6 separate regions of the Homo sapiens genome follow, and all the other regions are linked to region 5. The links are contacts of gene promoters, found by promoter capture Hi-C in blood cells and fetal thymus (Javierre and others, 2016). All regions are on one chromosome and are shown on one strand. Each heading gives the region's core, a stretch centred on a gene start or on the middle of the fragment in contact. The rest is flanking DNA. Distances are from core to core; before and after follow the strand shown.

Evidence for each region. Contacts are between HindIII fragments. The CHiCAGO score rates a contact against its expected background, and 5 or more counts as called.
Region 1: a contact is called between the fragment with the promoter of IPPK here and the fragment with the promoter of CKS2 in region 5, in 8 of 17 cell types (fetal thymus, total CD8 T cells, activated CD4 T cells and 5 more). The highest score is 18.9, in fetal thymus.
Region 2: a fragment that was not itself captured here is called in contact with the fragment with the promoter of CKS2 in region 5 in 1 of 17 cell types (fetal thymus); the score reaches 5.1 in fetal thymus.
Region 3: the fragment with the promoter of NAA35 here is called in contact with the fragment with the promoter of CKS2 in region 5 in 8 of 17 cell types (fetal thymus, total CD4 T cells, neutrophils and 5 more); the score reaches 10.9 in fetal thymus.
Region 4: a contact is called between a fragment that was not itself captured here and the fragment with the promoter of CKS2 in region 5, in 1 of 17 cell types (total CD4 T cells). The highest score is 7.6, in total CD4 T cells.
Region 6: a contact is called between a fragment that was not itself captured here and the fragment with the promoter of CKS2 in region 5, in 1 of 17 cell types (naive CD8 T cells). The highest score is 5.3, in naive CD8 T cells.

What each region holds. Positions count from the first base shown.
Region 1 is chr9:92,668,470-92,671,565 of GRCh38, reverse strand. It overlaps IPPK (inositol-pentakisphosphate 2-kinase), which reads left to right and starts at 1,435. Exons shown (of 13, transcript NM_022755.6): 1 at 1,435-1,658. The coding sequence starts at 1,578. LOC107987095 (a long non-coding RNA gene) reads right to left here and starts at 1,204. Exons shown (of 2, transcript XR_001746837.2): 1 at 893-1,204. RefSeq lists enhancers at 1-159, 914-963, 974-1,423, 2,164-2,333 and a silencer at 1,464-1,643. The HindIII fragment of the contact is 1,551 bases long and covers 1,260-2,810 here.
Region 2 is chr9:94,165,011-94,167,729 of GRCh38, reverse strand. MIRLET7A1HG (miRlet-7a-1/let-7f-1/let-7d cluster host gene) reads right to left here and starts at 1,472. Exons shown (of 5, transcript NR_170278.1): 1 at 1,349-1,472. RefSeq lists silencers at 748-817, 1,048-1,847 and an enhancer at 1,543-2,107. The HindIII fragment of the contact is 4,683 bases long and covers 1-2,719 here.
Region 3 is chr9:85,939,352-85,942,395 of GRCh38, reverse strand. NAA35 (N-alpha-acetyltransferase 35, NatC auxiliary subunit) reads right to left here and starts at 1,250. Exons shown (of 23, transcript NM_024635.4): 1 at 1,123-1,250; 2 at 113-241. The coding sequence starts at 236. RefSeq lists a silencer at 667-1,346. The HindIII fragment of the contact is 5,629 bases long and covers 226-3,044 here.
Region 4 is chr9:86,278,823-86,281,854 of GRCh38, reverse strand. All of the region lies in intron 1 of ISCA1 (iron-sulfur cluster assembly 1), which reads left to right. LOC124902194 (a long non-coding RNA gene) reads left to right here. Exons shown (of 2, transcript XR_007061634.1): 2 at 402-3,032. Among named protein-coding and RNA genes, the nearest start is that of ISCA1, 2.2 kb to the left of the region's middle. The HindIII fragment of the contact is 1,224 bases long and covers 673-1,896 here.
Region 5 is chr9:89,309,639-89,312,741 of GRCh38, reverse strand. It overlaps CKS2 (CDC28 protein kinase regulatory subunit 2), which reads right to left and starts at 1,547. Exons shown (of 3, transcript NM_001827.3): 1 at 1,391-1,547. The coding sequence starts at 1,449. It overlaps MIR3153 (microRNA 3153), which reads right to left and starts at 517; the gene lies at 436-517. It overlaps LOC105376136 (a long non-coding RNA gene), which reads left to right and starts at 1,940. Exons shown (of 3, transcript XR_930101.4): 1 at 1,940-3,103. RefSeq lists enhancers at 992-1,041, 1,712-2,001 and a silencer at 2,012-2,241. The HindIII fragment of the contact is 1,703 bases long and covers 795-2,497 here.
Region 6 is chr9:85,738,737-85,741,685 of GRCh38, reverse strand. All of the region lies in intron 1 of AGTPBP1 (ATP/GTP binding carboxypeptidase 1), which reads left to right. Among named protein-coding and RNA genes, the nearest start is that of AGTPBP1, 1.7 kb to the left of the region's middle. RefSeq lists silencers at 1-8, 79-398 and an enhancer at 569-718. The HindIII fragment of the contact is 533 bases long and covers 1,008-1,540 here.

The DNA.
Region 1 (3,096 bases), core at 186-2,685, 3.4 Mb before region 5:
GGCATGAGTCACCATGCCCTGCCCCAGCCTCCCTTTTGAGGCCTAAAATGGAGGAAAGAGATGCTCAAAGCCTTCAGCTCATTTTCCTGAGTCACTGGCCTGATTTCACTACAATTCCCAAGGCCTGGCAAGGTGCCCAGCCGTTCTCAAAGTTGGGTCTGCAGGTCCTCTCTTTGTGAACTACATAACTGCAGATGTTCTTCACAATGTGTATGTCAACCAATGCAATATATTGCAGCAGACCGAATGCCGAAGCACATGTGAGAACCTATTAGGTCAGATTTTAAAAAGATTTGCAAAAGTGTAAAACAATACCACTCCTTTATTTTGGTGGTGGGCGTGGAATGTAATGTTTACTTTTTTTTTTTTTTTTTTTTTTGAGATGGAGTCTCACTCTGTCGTCCACGCTGGAGTGCAATGGCGCGATCTTGGCTTACCGCAACCTCCGCCTCCTGGGTTCAAATGATTCTCTTGCCTCAGCCTCCGGAGTAGCTGGGATTACAGGCCTGCGCCACCATACCTGGCTCATTTTTGTATTTTTAGTAGAGACAGGGTTTCACCATGTTGGCCAGGCTGGTCTCAAACTCCTGACCTCAGGTGATACGCCCGCCTCAGCCTCCCAAAGTGCTGGGATTACAGGCGTGAGCTACCGCGCCCGGCTGTTTACTTTTAAACGAAACAACAAAAAACTTTAAAGCATTTTAACTTAGAATGTGGTAACATCGATAGCTGTAACCCACATTAGCAAAAGCTTGGGGCCCTCATTTTTATGAGTATAAAGTGGTCCTGAGACTACGAGTTTGGGAAATGCGGTAGCTCTACGAGGCGGTGCCATTCTTGCCGCCGCATCAGTGAATTTAGGAGAAGGAAGGTCGTTAGCCCTCTGCCTCACCGCCAAGCAGGAGCCTTGCGCTCCAACTGCGTCCCTCGAAGTCTTCAGGCAAAAGCGGGACTGGGGAGTCCAGTCCTGTGGCCCAGCCACATTTCCTCGCGTAGAACGTTGGACAATGTTTTCTACCTCACAGGACCATCCAAATGACTGCGTTAGGTATTCCCATGAAATGTACGATGAGTACACCCTATTCTACAGAAGCAAAAGCTGAGGCTCAGAGACGCCAAGAGGTTTGCTGGGGTCTCGCGACTAAGCGGTCCCAACACCCAGACACCCTGGCTACCCGGGGACTGCCGGTCACTACCGGGCGCCGAAAAGCCGCCGGCTCCTTCCGCCAGCTACACATCCGGCGCCGAGGCCGGAAGCTTCTCTTCCGGCTCCCAAGACCGCGTTCCGGAAATGAGTCGCTCTACCAGTACCTAAGATGGCCGCCGGCCCATCCACCGTCGCGATCGGTGTGAGGAAAGTGTCACGAACCCGGAATTGCCCGACTCCGTCATGGCAGGCGCCGGGGGCGTGGCTTCCGGCGGCCACAGCTTGCTAGTCGCCGCGGCGGGGTCGAGCGGGGGCGGCAGCTGACAGGCGCTCCTCCCCCGACCGCAGCGGCTGGTTCCCAGCGAGGCGGGCGGCCCCCAGCTCGCGTCCCCGAGTCCTAGCCCGCGAGGCGCCAGGGCTGCGCCTGGGCATGGAAGAGGGGAAGATGGACGAGAATGAATGGGGGTACCACGGAGAGGGCAATAAGAGCCTGGTGGTGGCCCACGCGCAGGTGAGCGGTGGACGTGCGGCGCAGGTCCGGTACCTCACTCCGACGGCCGGTATCACCCCGCCCCCATTATCCGTTTCCTCAACAGGGTCGGTTCCACGTCCCCCCAGTACCTTCCTCCTCCCCGGCCGGTCTCCGGAATTCCCCCACCCTCCAGCATCCCCCCCTACCGCTTGGGTTCCTCATCACCCCAGTATCCCCTCTCTACTGGGTCAGTCTCCCATTGCCCCAGATCCTTCTCCTGGCCGGTCTGTCGTCCCCTCAGTATTCCCGTTCCCCGTCAGAGTCAGTTCCACATCCCCCTCCCCGCCCCGTCGGTGCCGCGCTCAGCCTCACGCGGTGCCGCCTCCCGCCTGGATGCCCGCCGGACTGCCAGGCCGCAGTGGGGTGGAGGCTTGGTTGGGACGGAGGGCCCGGCCAGCACTGGAGGAAGAAGCAGAGTGCCCACAGTGCTGTTACTCTCAGCACCAAAAGAGTTCAGCCTCGTGAGACTACGGAATTGCTGTGCTGTTAATAGTAAGGGGATGTTGTCCACAGGTCCTCTTCTCAACCTTTTAGAATTTGAAGGCTTTCACCTGAATTCAACGAGGGTGAAAGTTTTAGAAACTGCAGTAAGATCTCGCAAAGGTGAATCCCAAGAGTGAAGCGTGTGGGTTTCTGTGAGGGCCCAGATCTCTCTGACCTTTTGCTGTCTGGTACAACCACGCAGGAATGTGGCCGGCTGGAACGGGGGAGGGGGGTGAGGGAGGCGAGGATAGGTGTCATGTAGGGAGGAGTTAGAGCATGGGTGTTAAAGGCACAGGAATCTCAGTGTCTACATTTGTGAAGTGGAACTAGTAGTAGAATTCACTTTGTGGGATTGTTGCAAAGACCAGTTACGCAGGAACCCATCAAGTTATGCTTAGCAAGTGATAATTGTCATCCCTTGGACAGATAAATAAAGTGAAAATCAGAGAGGTTAAGGGCATTGCCCGAGTCGAACAGCTTGTCAGGGATGATGTAGGCAGTGGAGTCCTGCCTTGCTTCTGTTGTTCCTATGCTGGGTGCATTGGTCAGCTGTAGTGTAAGCTGCAAACACCCAGGTAGCCCCTAGGTTGTGCCTTTGGATTTTGTTGCTCATTAGCACAGGGAACTAAAGAACAGAGACTACAAGCTTTGCTCAAGATCTTTAGGTGAATTAATAATGGACCAGGCTAACCTAAAGCTGTCCTTCTCTTGTGTAGTCCACTATTGGCAAAGTGAGGGATGTTTCTGCGTGAGTCCTTTTGTTGTTGGGTTACTGTGCTGATCCCCTGAATCCTTTCCCAAAACAAATACTAATCTTCCAATTCCTTGGTAAGATTAGATGTATCTCTGCATTTTAGGTAAACCTAAGACTTTTCTTTAGTGAGGGCTGATACATTAAATTTCAAAAGTAGTGGCAGATGAAGCAGCAAGTTTC
Region 2 (2,719 bases), core at 179-2,678, 4.9 Mb before region 5:
CACAAAACCCAAAGTAACTTCCAAGTTTTTACTTCCCTAACTACACATACTTCCCGAATATACAGTAAATAAAACCAGACCCCGCCAAACACCAAAAGAATTCTGGATATAAACAATTATTTCCTAAACTACACATAAATTTGGAATTTGACATTCAATGTTCTTATACTTCAGGCCAACAGAAATAAATGCAAAGGAATGCCACATGATGCTTTAACTTTAGGAACTGTATGCCAAGAAAGCAGTATTATCAATGAAGTTAAAAAGCAAAACTCAACCAGTCTCCTGATTTACCTCAAAATTTTAACATTCACTGTCTTCCCTGCCTTTTTCCTGTCTGCCCGCCCTCTCGTTAGTCAATTTTTTAAAAACCGGTAAGTTGAAGAATACATACCATTACCTCTGACACAGAATCTACTGTAAAAAGTTGAAAGACCGAAGGGCATTACTGGCCAAGGACATACAGGTTACCACATTCCTCACACTAGAGCCCGCCCGGGAAGTTTATTAGCAAGCCTTCTGAGAGGCACTCGGTTCCAAGAGTTTGCAGCGTCGACTCAAAAGGCCAGCGCTGTTTCCGGTGACACCGAGTCGCAAATCTCCAAGCCCCGTCCCCCGGGATACGATTTCCTCCCGCTCCCGCGTTCCCCTCCCCCTCGCCAAGGACGGCTGCCGCAGCGGACCTCCAGCCGCAGCAGCTGCTTCAGGAAGGGAGGCTGCACTTGGCCGCGGGGAGCAGGGGCATGCAGCCAGCCACGACTCTCCCGCCCTCCCCGCCCGCGCCTTCCCGCCCTGTCCCCCCGCCCCTCGCACTTCCTACCTTCCCTCCTTCATCCCAACCCCCAAGGCCAAGGTCTCCCCGGCCCACAAACTTGATAGCGGAAGTGACGTCAGAGGCACCTGGCGGCGCCTACAACCAGTCACGCCACAGTCAGAGGCGGCGCCGGCCAACAGGCGCCGGCCGGAAGGCGGGCCTTCCGCCCGCCCCAAGTTTGATTGAAGCGGGGGGAAGGGCGGGGTAAGGAATGTGAAGAATGACCCCCCCTCCCCCGCCCTGTCGGTGAGGAGCTGGGCGGGAAGCGGAGGGGGTTGGAGCCGGCCCCGCGGCGGCCACGCGGCACCCCTCCCCCGTGCCCCGAGCGCCCGCGACTTCCGCTAGCAGCCCGCCGGCCCCCCGGGGCCACCCGCCCGCTGGAGGGGGCAGGCCGCCCCACCAGTCCCAGCCCGCGTTAGCCGGACAGGCGCGGGCCGGCGCACGGCTCTCCCATTCTGCCCACCCGCTGCCGCGAGTCTCCGCGAAATAAAATGGCGACGGACCCGCGCTCGCTGCCGCGTCCGCCATACCCACCTCGCGCTCGCGGAGAGGGCCGTCGCGGCCGTGGGAATGCCCCGGCCCTCGCGCCCGTCGCTGCCGGGAGAGCACCGCGCCAGGACCCGGATGGAGGCGCGGGCGGGCGCCGCCGCGGCGGCCTGAGGGAAAGCAGCGCGGTCGCCGGGAGGCCGATGCAGGGGCGGGCGCCGCGGAAAGCGCGCAAGCCCATTGGTGAAGCCGTCTGATTGAAGTGCGCGTCGCTCTTTCGCCTTGGCCTAGCTGAGCTCGTCCGTCCCCTCACTGGAGGGCGGCGGCTGGGCCCGCCTCGCGCGGGGTGGCCACCGTGGGGGAGGCGGGTCTGGCCCGCCCACCAATACCATCTCCTTCTTTCCTAGTGGAGGGCTGAGAGAGTGGCGGGGGTGGTGTCCTCCAGGCCCTGCCCTTTGCGCGTGATGGGCTGGCTGTGTCACGTGGCCGCTGAACGCGCTGCCCGCGGGGCGGGGCGGCTGCTTTGCTCCCTCAGGCTCCTGGGGGCAATTTACACGTGCGCGACCCGGAAGGTCCGAACGCTGTCCAGCGTGCAGCCTCTGGCTCTTTTCCGTCAACTGACCCTGTTCCCTCCAGGAGGCCTTGGCCAGGCCTCCTGGAGTTCTGTGCCTCAGTTTGCTCATCTGTCAAATGGAGGAGTTGTGTCCGCCCAACCTTTTACTTTTATTCCTTGACGTTTTGGGGTCTGAGGGTTTTTTTGTTGTTTGTTTTTTCGAGACACGGTCTCTCGCTCTTTCTCCAGGGCTGGAGTGCAGTGGCGTGGGTCACGGCTCACTGTAGCCTCGACATCCGGACTCTAGAGATCCTCCCACCTCAGCCTCCCTGAGCTTTTTTTTGTTATCTTTTCCAACCCATGTTTTGAAGATTTTTGTCTTCAAATGTTTTTCAAAGCAATCCTTGATTTTGTTGTTTTAAAATTAATCCAAAGCCCAGTTCCTCCATCCCCATTACAACTTTCACATGCTAGGACTCTGAAATCACTAGTTAAGGTGTCGTTTGAGGTCTCTGCCAGTTTTAAGATTTTATGGCTGGGAACCGCAAGACCTGGGCTGTAGCTCTGCTTTTTGTAATTCATTGTGACTTTGTGCAACACTTTTAAAAAAGTGGGTCCTTGTCTGTAATAGAACTATGGGAAATAGTACTTGACATGCTGTACGTTTACATTTATGATCTTAGGTGGTGGTATCAGCTCCCCTTTTAGCACTCATATTAGTGTATGCAATAAGTGCCAAAGGAGTTTGTTTCGTTTTGTTTTTAATGGGGACTTTATTTTGTGAGCTAAAGTGAACAAGAAACTAGAGGGGGGGAAACTTGAGCTTAAGCCATGGGTAGGATTTGGGGAGGACTTCTTGAGGTTAG
Region 3 (3,044 bases), core at 1-2,500, 3.4 Mb after region 5:
TCAACAAACCACATTTACCTGTTGATTTCATCTAATGAGGTAAGTTTAGAAAGCACAATCGTCATTCTACCCCTTCCAGATGCTGAACTTCTAATCCAAAAATCAGACTCACCTCGACAAGCTTCTTCAAAATCTTGGGTAATGTCCACCCAGTTTGTATTGCTTTTCTCCATTTTTTCTGGCATACTGAGCTCCCATCCTGAATCGTCATCATCTACAGAAGCTTTCATAACCATTATGCCTGTAAAATTAATACTGATGTAAGAGAGAGGATGTAGCTTTCAGGGCAAGAGTATTTGCAGAAATGGGTGTTTGTTTCAGCATAGGATGAAGTCTTAACTAAACTCTTTAAAGCAGAACTCTTCTGAGTCTAAGGACAGTACTGCAAAGAATAACCTTAATGCAATCAAATCGCACGTCAATTAACACTCCTGCTGCTTACTATTAGCCCACCACCTACCAGGGCCCATAAACATTTTGCCTTCCTACTGTTTAAGAAGAAAAATCACAAACCATCTCACCTCTGGCCCGAAAAGAACAACTCCAGAGCTTCCAACTTTCAATAATAGCCACAAAAGACCAAGGCACTATTCAGGGTCCCCTCTCGCAGCCCAGGACCCCATGCGGCAGCTACCGAAGTCAATCAAGGTAGCCCTTCATCTGGCCAGAGCTCGCTGGGACCTCTCCCGGGCCAGAGCCGGCCCGGACCCAGGCAGAACCTCGCCGGGAGCAATGAGGAGCCGGCAGGCACCGCAGGGTCCCGCCGGCCGGGCCTAGGGCCGAGGCACACCTGAGGCGGGCACACGCTTCCCTTCCGCCCTGCCCGGGTCAGCCCAGCCCAGCCCCGGTCCCACTGGGCGCATAAGCAAGGACAGAGCTGTCGCCGCGCGGGAGGGCGGGCACGTCCGGCGCCGGGTCGTCGCCTCGGCAACACCGGGCAAGAGTGGGGCCTCGGCCGACAGCGGGCACTGGGGAGCCCGCCGCTCCTACCTGACGCGCAGCGGGAGGGCCGGGGCCGCAGGGTGACCTGGGGTCCCCAGGATCTGCCACACGCGCGGGGGGCTGCGGCTCTCGGACACACGAGCGAGAGGGTTTCAATGGCTACGCAGGGGCGGTCCCTACCTACTTCTCCCGTGGTCACCCGCGCCGCCACGCACTGTCCGGACCACGGAAATAACGACGCCGCCTCGGCCGCCGCCGCCCCCTCCCCTCTCAGCCCAGCCCGACCGGCAGCGTGCACGCATGCGTATGCCCGGGACGCGCGACCCCGCCCCCTCTCCCTTACTCCCGGGGACTTCGCGCTCCCCGGCCACACCCCCTCCCTCGCCACCGCCTCCGTTCGGCCGATGGCGGCCGCCTTCTCTTCTCGCGAGATTAGAGACGATCGCGAGACCGGAAGTTATCTTTTTTCACCCTCTGTCGGAGTCCTGGGTAGTGGGCGGTTCCCGGAAAGAGGCGGAGCCCGGAGTCTCAGAGCCCGCCCCGTCTGCGCTGCCCTCTGGGAATTTCTTAGAAAGGTGACGCGAAGGCGGAAGGAAACCGTGGAGGTTTGCGTAGACCTTAGTGGTTGCGAGCACGAACGAGCAGCCAAGCTCCGAGAGCAACAGCGTGCTACTGCTGCCTGACAACGGATTTATGTTTCCTATACAGCGCCTGGGAGTTTCGTGAGGAAACATAGATTCAAAATATCTGCAAAGTCAAGCCAGACATTTAATTTCAGATTCTTATATGTTTTAGATTTTTTTAATTTATTAATAAAATGATCAGTTTTTAAATGGGGTTACATAAATAGACGGGCGCAGGTAAGAAGCACATCTTTATCACCACCTGTTCTTTAGGATGGCCCAAAATTAAAAGATGGAAAAGATAATACCAAATGTTGGCAAGGATGCAGAGCAACTGGACCTCTGTTATGTTGGTGGTGGTAATGCAAAATGGTACAACCACTTTGGAAAACTTAACAATCTCTCCTTATAATCATATACTTATCATTCGATCCAGTAATCTACGAATTTACTTAGGAACAAAAACATATTCATACAAAGGCTTGTACGTTAATGTTCATACCAGCTTTGTTTTGCTTTGTTTTTGTTTTTGTTTGAGACAGAGTGTCACTCTTGTCGCCCCTGCTAGAGTGCAGTGACCTGATCTCGGCTCATTGCAACCTCTGCCTTTCAGGTTCAAGCAATTCTCGTGCCTCAGTCTCCCGAGTAGCTGGGATTACAGGCGCCTGCCCCCACACCAGGCTGTTTTTTGTATTTTTAGTAGAGATGGGGTTTCACCATGTTGGTCAGGCTGATCTCAAACTCCTGACCTCGTGATCTGCCCACCTCAGCCTCCCAGAGTGCTGGGATTACAGGTATGAGCCACCGTGCCTGGCCCAGCTTTGTTTTTAATCATCAAAAACTACAGACAACCCAAATGTCCATCAACTGTTGAATAAAAACAATTTGTGGCATATCCATACAATGTAATGAATGTAATTATCAATAAACAGGGATAAACTACTTGACATACAACATGAATGAATTTCAAAAATATATTGAGTAAAAGAAATCAGGCTGAGCTTGGTAGCTGGTAGCTCATGCGTGTAATCCCAACACTTTGGGAGGCTGGCAGTGGAGAGGTCGGGTTGGAGACTAGCCTGACCAATATGGTGAAATCCTGTCTCTACTAAAAATACAAAAAAATTAGCCAGGCATGGTGGCGTGCGCCTGTAATCCCAGCCACTTGGGAGGCTGAGACAGGGGAATCCCTTGAACTCAGGAGGCAGAGGTTGCTGTGACCCGAGATGGTGCCATTGCACTCCAACCTGGGCGACAGAGTAAGAAATCAAATGCAAGAGTATGATTCCCCAAGTGAGACCCCAGGCTCTTAAAAGACATCTATAGTGACAGAAGACAGATTAGTGGCTGCTCAGGGCTCAAGAAGAGACTAAGTTGGATAGAGCTTGATTTGAAGTGATGTAAATATTCTGTTTTCGATTAAGGTAGTGCCTGTGTGGGTGAATACATTTGTAAAATTTCACTGAAGTATATACTTAC
Region 4 (3,032 bases), core at 35-2,534, 3.0 Mb after region 5:
GCCGCGGCGCGCAAAGCGTTACTTGCCGGTGTCCTGGGTGATTGAGGCCTTTGAAACTCCCTCTGTGCCTCTAGCAAGCCTAGGCTCTTAGGACAAAAGATGATTTCCCAGAGTGAGTTTACAGCCTTTTCTGGGTGAAAGGTCAAACACTCAGAGGGCACCAGAGTGCAACCATTGATTACTTAGAGAATTCACTGAGCTCAGTGTTCCGGCCGCACCGTTCAGTTTTTTAGTGGAAGGAAAATCCACATAACATAAAATTAGTCCTTTTAAAGGGTACAATTCAGTGCCATTTAAGACATTCACAGTGTCGTGCAACCATCACCTCTATCTAGTTCCAAAATACTTTCACCCCAAAAGAAAAATTTATGATCACGTTCCTACATACACTCCCCTTTTAGTGAAGGAGACGACTTTATGCAACCATTCGCTTAGAGACTGGGAAAAAAAACGATTTAAATTGACTCATCGATTCTGTTGCATCTAATGCCAAAAGGGCCTATTACCAGAAAATAAGTTTGTAGCAAAGTAGAAGAAAATTGTGATCAGGTGAGAGAATTTATTTTTATAATCAATTTTTTAGGCCTTTGATATTACCCTGATTATATATGGTACTACTAGTGTACTGATTATGTATCATTCTATATTACCTCTTTTCTGTAGGAGCAAGCTTATTTTCATACACCGTGGGATGTAGAATTAAACAAGGTTTTAAGAACTAGAGGGCACAACTCATTCTTTGTGTCTCTTTCAATCTCAGTAAGAATTATTCAGAATTCTTCCACTGGTAATGGTAGATCCAGGAAGAGCCAGAAGGTTCAGGAACAGTTTTTGCCTTTTCTTTTTTGCTTTTTAGCAACCCTATTAACTGGGTTTTTTGTTTTTTGTTTTTTGTTTGTTTGTTTGTTTTTGTTTGTTTTGTTTTTGGAGACAGGGTCTCACTCTATCTCCCAGGCTGTAGTTCAGTGGTGCAATCATGGCACACTGCAGCGTCAACCTCCTGGGCCCAAGCGATCCTCCCACCTCAGGCTCCCAAGTCGCTGGGACCACCGGTGTGCACCGTCATGCATGCACCTAGGGTCTCCCTGGGTTGCCCAGGCTGGTCTCGAACTCCTGGGCTCAAGCAGTCCACTGCCTCAGGCTCCCAGTGTGCAGGGATTACAGGTGTGAGCCACCATGCCTGGTCCCTGATGTCTTTCTCCATCACCATTTGACATGTTACCTCTTCCTTCAGAATTTCTTTTTTTTTTTTTTTTTTTTGAGACAGGGTTTCGCTGGGTTGCCCAGGCTGGAGTGCAGTGGCGTGATCTCAGCTCACTGCAGCCTCTGCCTACTGAGTTCAAGCAACTCTCTGCCTCAGCCTCCTGAGTAGCTGGGATTACAGACGCCCACCACCATGCCCAGCTTATTTATTTATTTATTTTTGTATTTTTAGTAGAGATGGGGTTTCACCATCTTCACCAGGCTGGTCTTGGACTCCTGACCTCGTGATCCACTCGTCTCAGCCTCCCAAAGTGCTGGGATCACAGGCATGAGCCACCGTGCCTTGCCCTTCCTTCAGAATTTCTATGTCAGTCCCTTTCTCTCCATTCCTAGTCATTCAGCAGACATTTATCAAGATCTGCTGTGTTTCAAGACAAATGAATGAGTTATACAGTTCCCAGCCTACGGGGCACAGTCGCAGGCCAAGCCTTTGCCACCTCTTACTAGGAGTAATAGCACTGCACATTCTCAGGCTTGGTCTCTCTCCACACTTGCTCCCCTCTGCTTCAGTACATGTTATCATAGCAGTTCTCAAGGTATCCATGTTGCCTGACTCAGCTGTTTTGATTAACTTGCAGGAGTCTACTGTCTGTACTCTGTTGTCCTACTTAAGTATGGCTGACTTTAGAAGCTTCTCAGAAGCTGTACCAGAGAGAAGGCACATCAATGCTGTTTTCCACACAGCCTGTGTTGGTGGGCTTGCAGTCATTTTAGTTCCAGCATTCGTGCCCTAGTCAGGACACTATGGCATGTATTGCTCTTTGTGCTTAGTTTATCATCAGCATGTATCGTCAAGTGCAAAAGTAGTGATGCCGTCAAAGGCCTAATGAATGGAGACAGATAAGAGAGCAAACAAAAGTATACGTAATTCAGTAAAACTGATTGGAAGAGGTAAATGTTACTTGGGTCTAATAAGTAGAGACAGATAAGAGCAAACACAAGTATACCTAATTCAGTAAAACTGATTGGAAGGGATAAATGTTACCTGGATATATAAATTTTGATGTTAGGAATTTGACATGTTGCAACATTTGAAAAGTGCTATATGTGTGGAGTCTACCAGATGTCAACAAAAGGCTAGGAAAAGTAACTGATAATATAACACAGTTCAATGCTGTCATTATCAGATTATCTACATCTTCCCTATTTCCCTACATATCTAGAAATTGACAAGTGGAATTGAACTTGCAGGAGCCAGATGTGATTAAAGAATCTGAAGAGTAAATAGTGCCCTGCTTGCAGACAGATTTATTTCCATCATTGTACAAGTCAGAGCAACTCTAATTTGTAGGACTGGGGTGGATCACAGCTGTGCATTAAAACTCAACCAAGTTCTATGAGAGAATGATGGTGCACAGCCACTATCATTCTTGATGAATTCATTGTGTACGGAAGGTGCCTTAGGGCTTAACTTTCTATTGGAGTCCAGTTGAGAAGCTAGGAAATGCTTAATGCTCAGTAAGGAACTGTGTGTTAGTTCATTGGACTAGAACCAGAAGTCCTTTTGAACAGTGACCAAGCACTAAGATTTCTATACGAAGGCAGTTTAGGAAATACTACACAAGAAGCACTGGAAGTAGCCTAGCAGTCTAACAGTGAAAGAACGGTTAAGTACGTGAGAGTAGATCCTGTTGGTGAAGGATGTAGTCATTGTAAATTATGGTTTTTTTTAAGTTTCAGCGTTATAAATCTTCATTCTTTGACTTATGCTGTGCAAATTATTTAATCTTTAATACCTAAATCACAATGGCAGGAATAAAAAGATGTTA
Region 5 (3,103 bases), core at 298-2,797:
CAGCATATTACACGAGTATAGTTTATTATTACTATAAGGTTAACACAATCTACTTGAAATTTACCTACAGCCAGAAAAACATGCTATTTTTCTAGCTAGGAATACAAAAGGGTGCAATTACTACTACCCATAGAAATATTCAGTAGTCCTCATGTGAAAACAGACTTCCATGCTACTAGGGAGGGGGAGAAAAAGAGAAACCACCCACTGTTTTGTTCTTTCTTCCTTAAATAGCATTCGGAGAAATCTAACCTACAAAGGCAGCAGACAGAAAACAAGGTCACAATTTGGCCAACGATGGCATGGGCTTTATCTCCCCTAAATCTTGGTAGTATCCCAGAACGCAGCGTTCTAGTCGCTACCTAGTTAAGAAAAAGGGGTTGACTGTTTTCTGAAGCCACGCCCTAAATGAAGTGTCCCGCATACAGTAAGGACAACAAATTTTAAATGTCCCTACTCGCTTTCCCCCAATCTACTTTAATTGGGGGGAAGGGGACAGGGACATTTAAAATTTGTCTAATTTTACTGATCGATTACAGCCACCATGTTCTAGTACGGTGCTTCAGGACTCAAACGCAAAAGTTTCTCAAAGCCCAAAATTTGGCCAGTGTATACTAGCAGAAAATGATGCCCAAAGTCCACTCAAGTTCTTAATCGGCCTTAAAATGAAACTCCTTTAATAATACCCTCAATTGTATGACTGCGGCTAACCTATAATGGCCCAAATCACCATACCCAGTAAACATTTTCGAATCCCCATCAAGCTCATTTTTCGGGGGGTCGCCTCCAAAGCTTATTCTTATACCACTCACTTCAAAAACAAGAAAAAGAAAAGTGTTCCTCTGTGTTAACAGATGAAAATGACCATTTGACCATTCTAAACCACAAACTAGTAAAAGCTGCATCACCCCGTCAGCGACAGGGAAAGTGTGTCACGGTTGCTAAAGGAAAAAGGACGGCACCAGGTGGGTTTTCCTGGACTGGTTCAAAGAACTGGAACTGAGACCAGCTACTGAACGGCCTAATTACTTCGGCCACGGCCGAGAAAAAAGTGACGGGATGGTCACTCCGCGTCGCCGAGGACCCCATGACCCCCAAGTTGCGCCGGTTCCTACCCAGGTACTAAATGCGGCCCGGTGGGCACTCTTCCCTCACCCTCCGCGCACACCGAACAAAGGCCCAACCGGCCCGGCGCGGCCAGGCACCCAACCATGTCCGACTGCGCGGGGCGCCAGGTGGCCGCGACCCCAAACCCCGGCCCTCGCCCTCCGGCCCCGGGCTCCGCCCCCCAGGCCCCGGCCCCCACCCCCGACCCTACTATGCCTGGGTCGCCCCGCCCGCGGGGGCCCCGGCTGAGGGAGCCGGCTCGGGGTCTAAGAAAGGCGCCCACCGGTACTCGTAGTGTTCGTCGAAGTACTTGTCCGAGTAGTAGATCTGCTTGTGGGCCATCCTGCTGGCGCGCTGCAGAAAATGAAACGAGAGCGCGAAGAGCGGGCGCAGCAGACAAAACCACGTCCAGCCCAGGCAACAACTCGCCGGAGACTAACGACCGCAGTCCCAACGATCCGGATTTGAATCCGACAGCCCGCCGCCGATTGGACAGCAGCGCCGACCAATCACCTTCTGCGGAAGTCGGCCGGCTGCCAGCCTATCGTCGCCGCCGCCTCGCAAAGTCCGCTTCCTGGGTCAGCCAATCAGAGATCTGTTGCGAGGTTGCCCGAGGGAAGATAGGTACGTCACGGGGGTGGCAGGGCCCTTAACGGGCAGGGGCGTGGCCAGAGGAGGGCGAAGTCGGGACGTTAAGGGCCGCAGAGCGCGTGCGCAGGAACGTGGAAAGTTCCAGGACACGGAACCGTTGGGACGGAGGACCTGAAGGTGGAGTGAGGTATCACGGGGTTTGGTGATGACGTAGTCGGTCGAGGCCGGAAGCGTGGGCCACAGGGCTTTGAGCGGAAGCTGTCGACCTTGCACGGTGATGGCGCTCCTCGTGATCCCTTGTATCCCCTCAGGCTCGAGCCAGGAGCCTAGGTCCACTTTGAAAAGTAGTAAAAGGCAGAAAGGTTCTGCGGTGTGAGGGGGAGGGCGGCTTCGTGGTCGGCTGGGTCGGGGGAGCGCCGGGCGGCCGCGGCGTGGCTGTGTCCGGGGCTGCCCTGCGCAGCCGGCCGTTTCGCCGCCTGGTGCACTTGCTGAGCTTCCGGCCTGGCCCGTCGCGGGGCTCCTGGCGCCCCCCTAGACGACTGTGTGGAGAATGGAGCCTGCGGAGCCACGCGTAGAGAGAGGCCCGGAGCCGGCGCGGTGGCGGCGGGCGCCAGTGGTCCCAGCCACTCGGGAGGCCGAGGTGGAGTGTCGCTTGAGCCCAGGAGTTCCAGACAGGCCTGAGCAACAGAGCCAGACCCCGTCTCCACAAAGAAAGAAACAAATGGGCCAGAGACCCAGAATGCTTTCTGTAGCCTAACCTAATGTTCAAAACCAGGGCAGACCCAAGCCATGGAAAGCTTGAGGGAATAAAATAATATTCTGCTGCGGCCAAGAATAACAATGCTAATTCCTGGATAAGGGGATTTAAAATGATGTTTAACAACTTCTGGTCTTTTAATATTGACCCAAGTTTAAAAACATGTTCATATAAAAAAGTTACTGGAAGAAATTTATAAATGTAACTGGTGGTTATTTTTAGATGACAGAATTAAAAGTGATCTTTTTGGTATTTTTTCCACAACGAGCACGTGTCATTTTTATGTTAATTTCATTTTATGCGAAATGCTCCAGCGCAGTACAGGCTAGTGGGTTCAGGGTGGCTGTGACTAAGTAATGTAGATGGGGTACCTTAGACAAAGTTTCCAGACTAGAGGCTGGAAGTAAGAGGTCCGGGTGCCCTTTTCCACACTGCAGACCACGGACTTTTCCGGTTTCTGAACAAGTGAGACAGGCCGGCTAAGGACATTTATAATCTCCATGGGTGAGGGCCCCACCCTCATGACCATCTAATCTTGATTACCTCCCGAAGGCCCCACCTCCTAACTTCCTAATACAATCACTTCTTGGGGGAAGAGGGTGTTTGGAATTCCACCCCCCGCCCTTTTTTTTTTTTGGAGACAGTCTC
Region 6 (2,949 bases), core at 25-2,524, 3.6 Mb after region 5:
GTAGGAGGGGCGACCCCGGATCCCTGCGCCCCTTACCTGACGGGTTGTGTAACGCATGTTACACATGTGACGCGTGAGGGGAACGCACTCGGTCTTGAGGGAAAGCCCTGACGGGGTGGGGCTTTGACTGGGTCTGGAAAACGCCTTCCCCAGTCCCCGGACCCTCGGTGGATCCCCGTCCCAGACCTTGCGGAGGGTATCGGGCGCGGTCTCTGGGCGGAGGCCGCCCTTTCTGCTCAGCCCTTTCTCTCGGGCCCGAGCTCGCGGCGCCGCGGGGAGTCCAGCCGAGGGGCTGCAGGGCCGGGGGCGGGCGCGCCCAGCCCCGCTCTCCCCCGCCCCAGTGGTAGCGGGCCGCTGAATCGCGGGCCCCTGTGCTTCGAGAATTCTAGCGTTCCCGACTGAGCGCCAGCAAGGTGGGATTTGCTGTGACATCGGCGATGGGCACGTTTGCTTCCTCTCGCTGGGTGGTTTGAGCTGAAGTGTGTCTTCTGTTTACAACTTGTCGCCTTGAGCGTTTGGTTTGAACCTGAATCAGATCACCCTGGATGACAGTGCAGAGTTTCCTTAGTGTCTTCCTTCCTGAATTGCGGGTTCTCAATTGCAAGTGTTCAAGGACTGTTGTAACCCAAAGGCTTGCTCGACTCTACCGTTGTTTTACCCCTTGTGCGGTATAAACCTCTTACGAGCACCAGGGCAATTGGAGTTGGTTGGGTTCCTTTCTTGGGCGTTTACTCATTGTAGAATGGAGTTTTCATGCATCATAGTGTAATCGATGTGAATGTTGATAATTTAAAGCCCATTTCCCGTTTTAACATAGCTTACTCAAGTGCCTGAAGATAGCGGAAATTTTCTTTGGCAGTATTAATTCTATGTGGGTTTTTTCCTTCAGGTGTTTAACATTGTAGTTGTGTTTAATTACAATGCATGACAATTTGTAGTTAGAAAGGACCTTAACAGTCTTCTTAATCGGTCATTTTCACTTACCTTTTATGTCCGTTTTTTAAGCTTTATGTAAATCAAATTATCCTTTGTGAACTTCTGAATTATTCTTATAAACTGGTTGTCTGAGAAAACCGGAAAGTTATTTTTGTAATTGTATTGTGGAATGTTTTTAGTTCAGTAGGCCAAAAAAGAAATGATTTATTTAAGGAACTTTAAATGGTGCTTATTTTAAAACATGTGCCAAATGTCAAAACCAAACAAAACTCTGAAAGATCTGTATTTCCTATGTAGAATTACTGCGAAATAATAAGTCGTGCCTTACCCACTGTTTCTCATCATGCAGGCAGAGTTCTAATATGACTTGCTCTTTTTCCCATTCCACTTCTCTTAAGTTAAATTCTATGGTGAAGTTACAGGTTCATTTTTAATGATCACAAAACTCTGCCTTGAATTGATTAATCACATAATTACAACTGCAGACTCACTCTGAACTCGGAAATGAAGTGGATAGGCTTAAAACTACCCTCGTATTTGGCCAACATTGCAAAGCATTTAAATCTATTAATTAAACTTTTGTAGAAGCAATTTTTATAAAGCTTTTCCGAATTGAGGCATTCTTCTCTTTAGAAAAGTCTGGCTAGGCTGCTATATAATAATGGTTTTACTTCCATTAGCAGAAGGAAAAGAGGTCCAACAGTTATGAAATTTTGTAATTTGTATTTTACTTTTTTTTTTTTTTTGAGACGGAGTCTCACTCTCTCGCCCAGGCTAGAGTGCCAGTGGTGCGATCTCGGCTCACTGCAACCTGCCCCTACCGGGTTCAAGCGATTCTCCCGCCTCAGCTTCTTGATTATAGGCGCGCGTCACCACGCCTAGCTAATTTTTGTGTTTTTAGTAGAGACGGGTTTCACCATGTTGGCCAGGCTGGTATCGAACTCCCAACCTCAGGTGATCCACTAGCCTCAGCTTCTTAAGGTGCAGGGATTACAGGCGTGAGCCACCAAGCTTGGCCTGAATTTTTTTTTTTTTTTTTTTGAGACGGAGTTTCGCTCTTGTCGCCCAGGCTGGAGTGCAGTGGCACGATCTTGGCTCACTACAGCCTCTGCCTCCCGGGTTCAAGCGATTCTCCTGCCTCAGCCTCCCGAATAGCTGGGATTACAGGAGCACACCACCACGCCCGGCTAAGTTTTTGTTTTTAGTAGAGACGGGGTTTCACCATGTTACCCAAGCTCGTCTTGAACTCCTGACCTCAGGTGGTCTGCCCACCTCGGCCTCCCAAAGTCCTGGGATTACAGGCGTCCGCCACCACGCCCGTCCTGGCCTGAATTTTTTTAAACCTCATCCAAAGTATTCATCTTCCCAAATCTGCTTTTCTTGCTTGAAGTCCCCCACTATCTGAAAGTTGAACAGTGCGTGAATAGCAATGGATGCACCTGTCAGAGGGCCATCTGCAAGATGGGAGCTTTCCTTAGGCAATGGGTTTCAGTATAAACAACATAAATTTTGTAGGGTGGGCACTGAATTTTAAACTTCAGATGTTATTGTTGATTACTGTGCCTGTGTACTATGGTGTAGTGGCTAAGGAGTTGGGCCTCAGAGCCAGATGGCTCGGTTTGGGTCCTGGCTTTGCTTTAGGCAAGTTATTTTTATTTTTATTTTTTTAAGACAAGTTATTTGTCCTTTTTGTACTTTAATTTTCTCAGCTCCAAAAATGACATAATATTAGTGTATACTCTTAAGATATTCTCAAATATTAAGTGATTAATACAAGTAAAGTGCTTAGCCCACAGTGCCTGGCATGTAGTAAGTGCCCAGTAAATATTGCTATTATTACCGTTGCTCTTCCTCAGTCTTCAAAGGGATCTAGTAAGCAGAAAAAGGACTTTTGGGGGATGGAGCAGTATTAGTGCAGATTAATTCCACTATGACCCATTTGCTCCTTTGGGGTTAAATGAGAGCTTAGTCTCACTGTCCTGCCTCCTGCCTTGGAAACATGTAAGTCAGTTT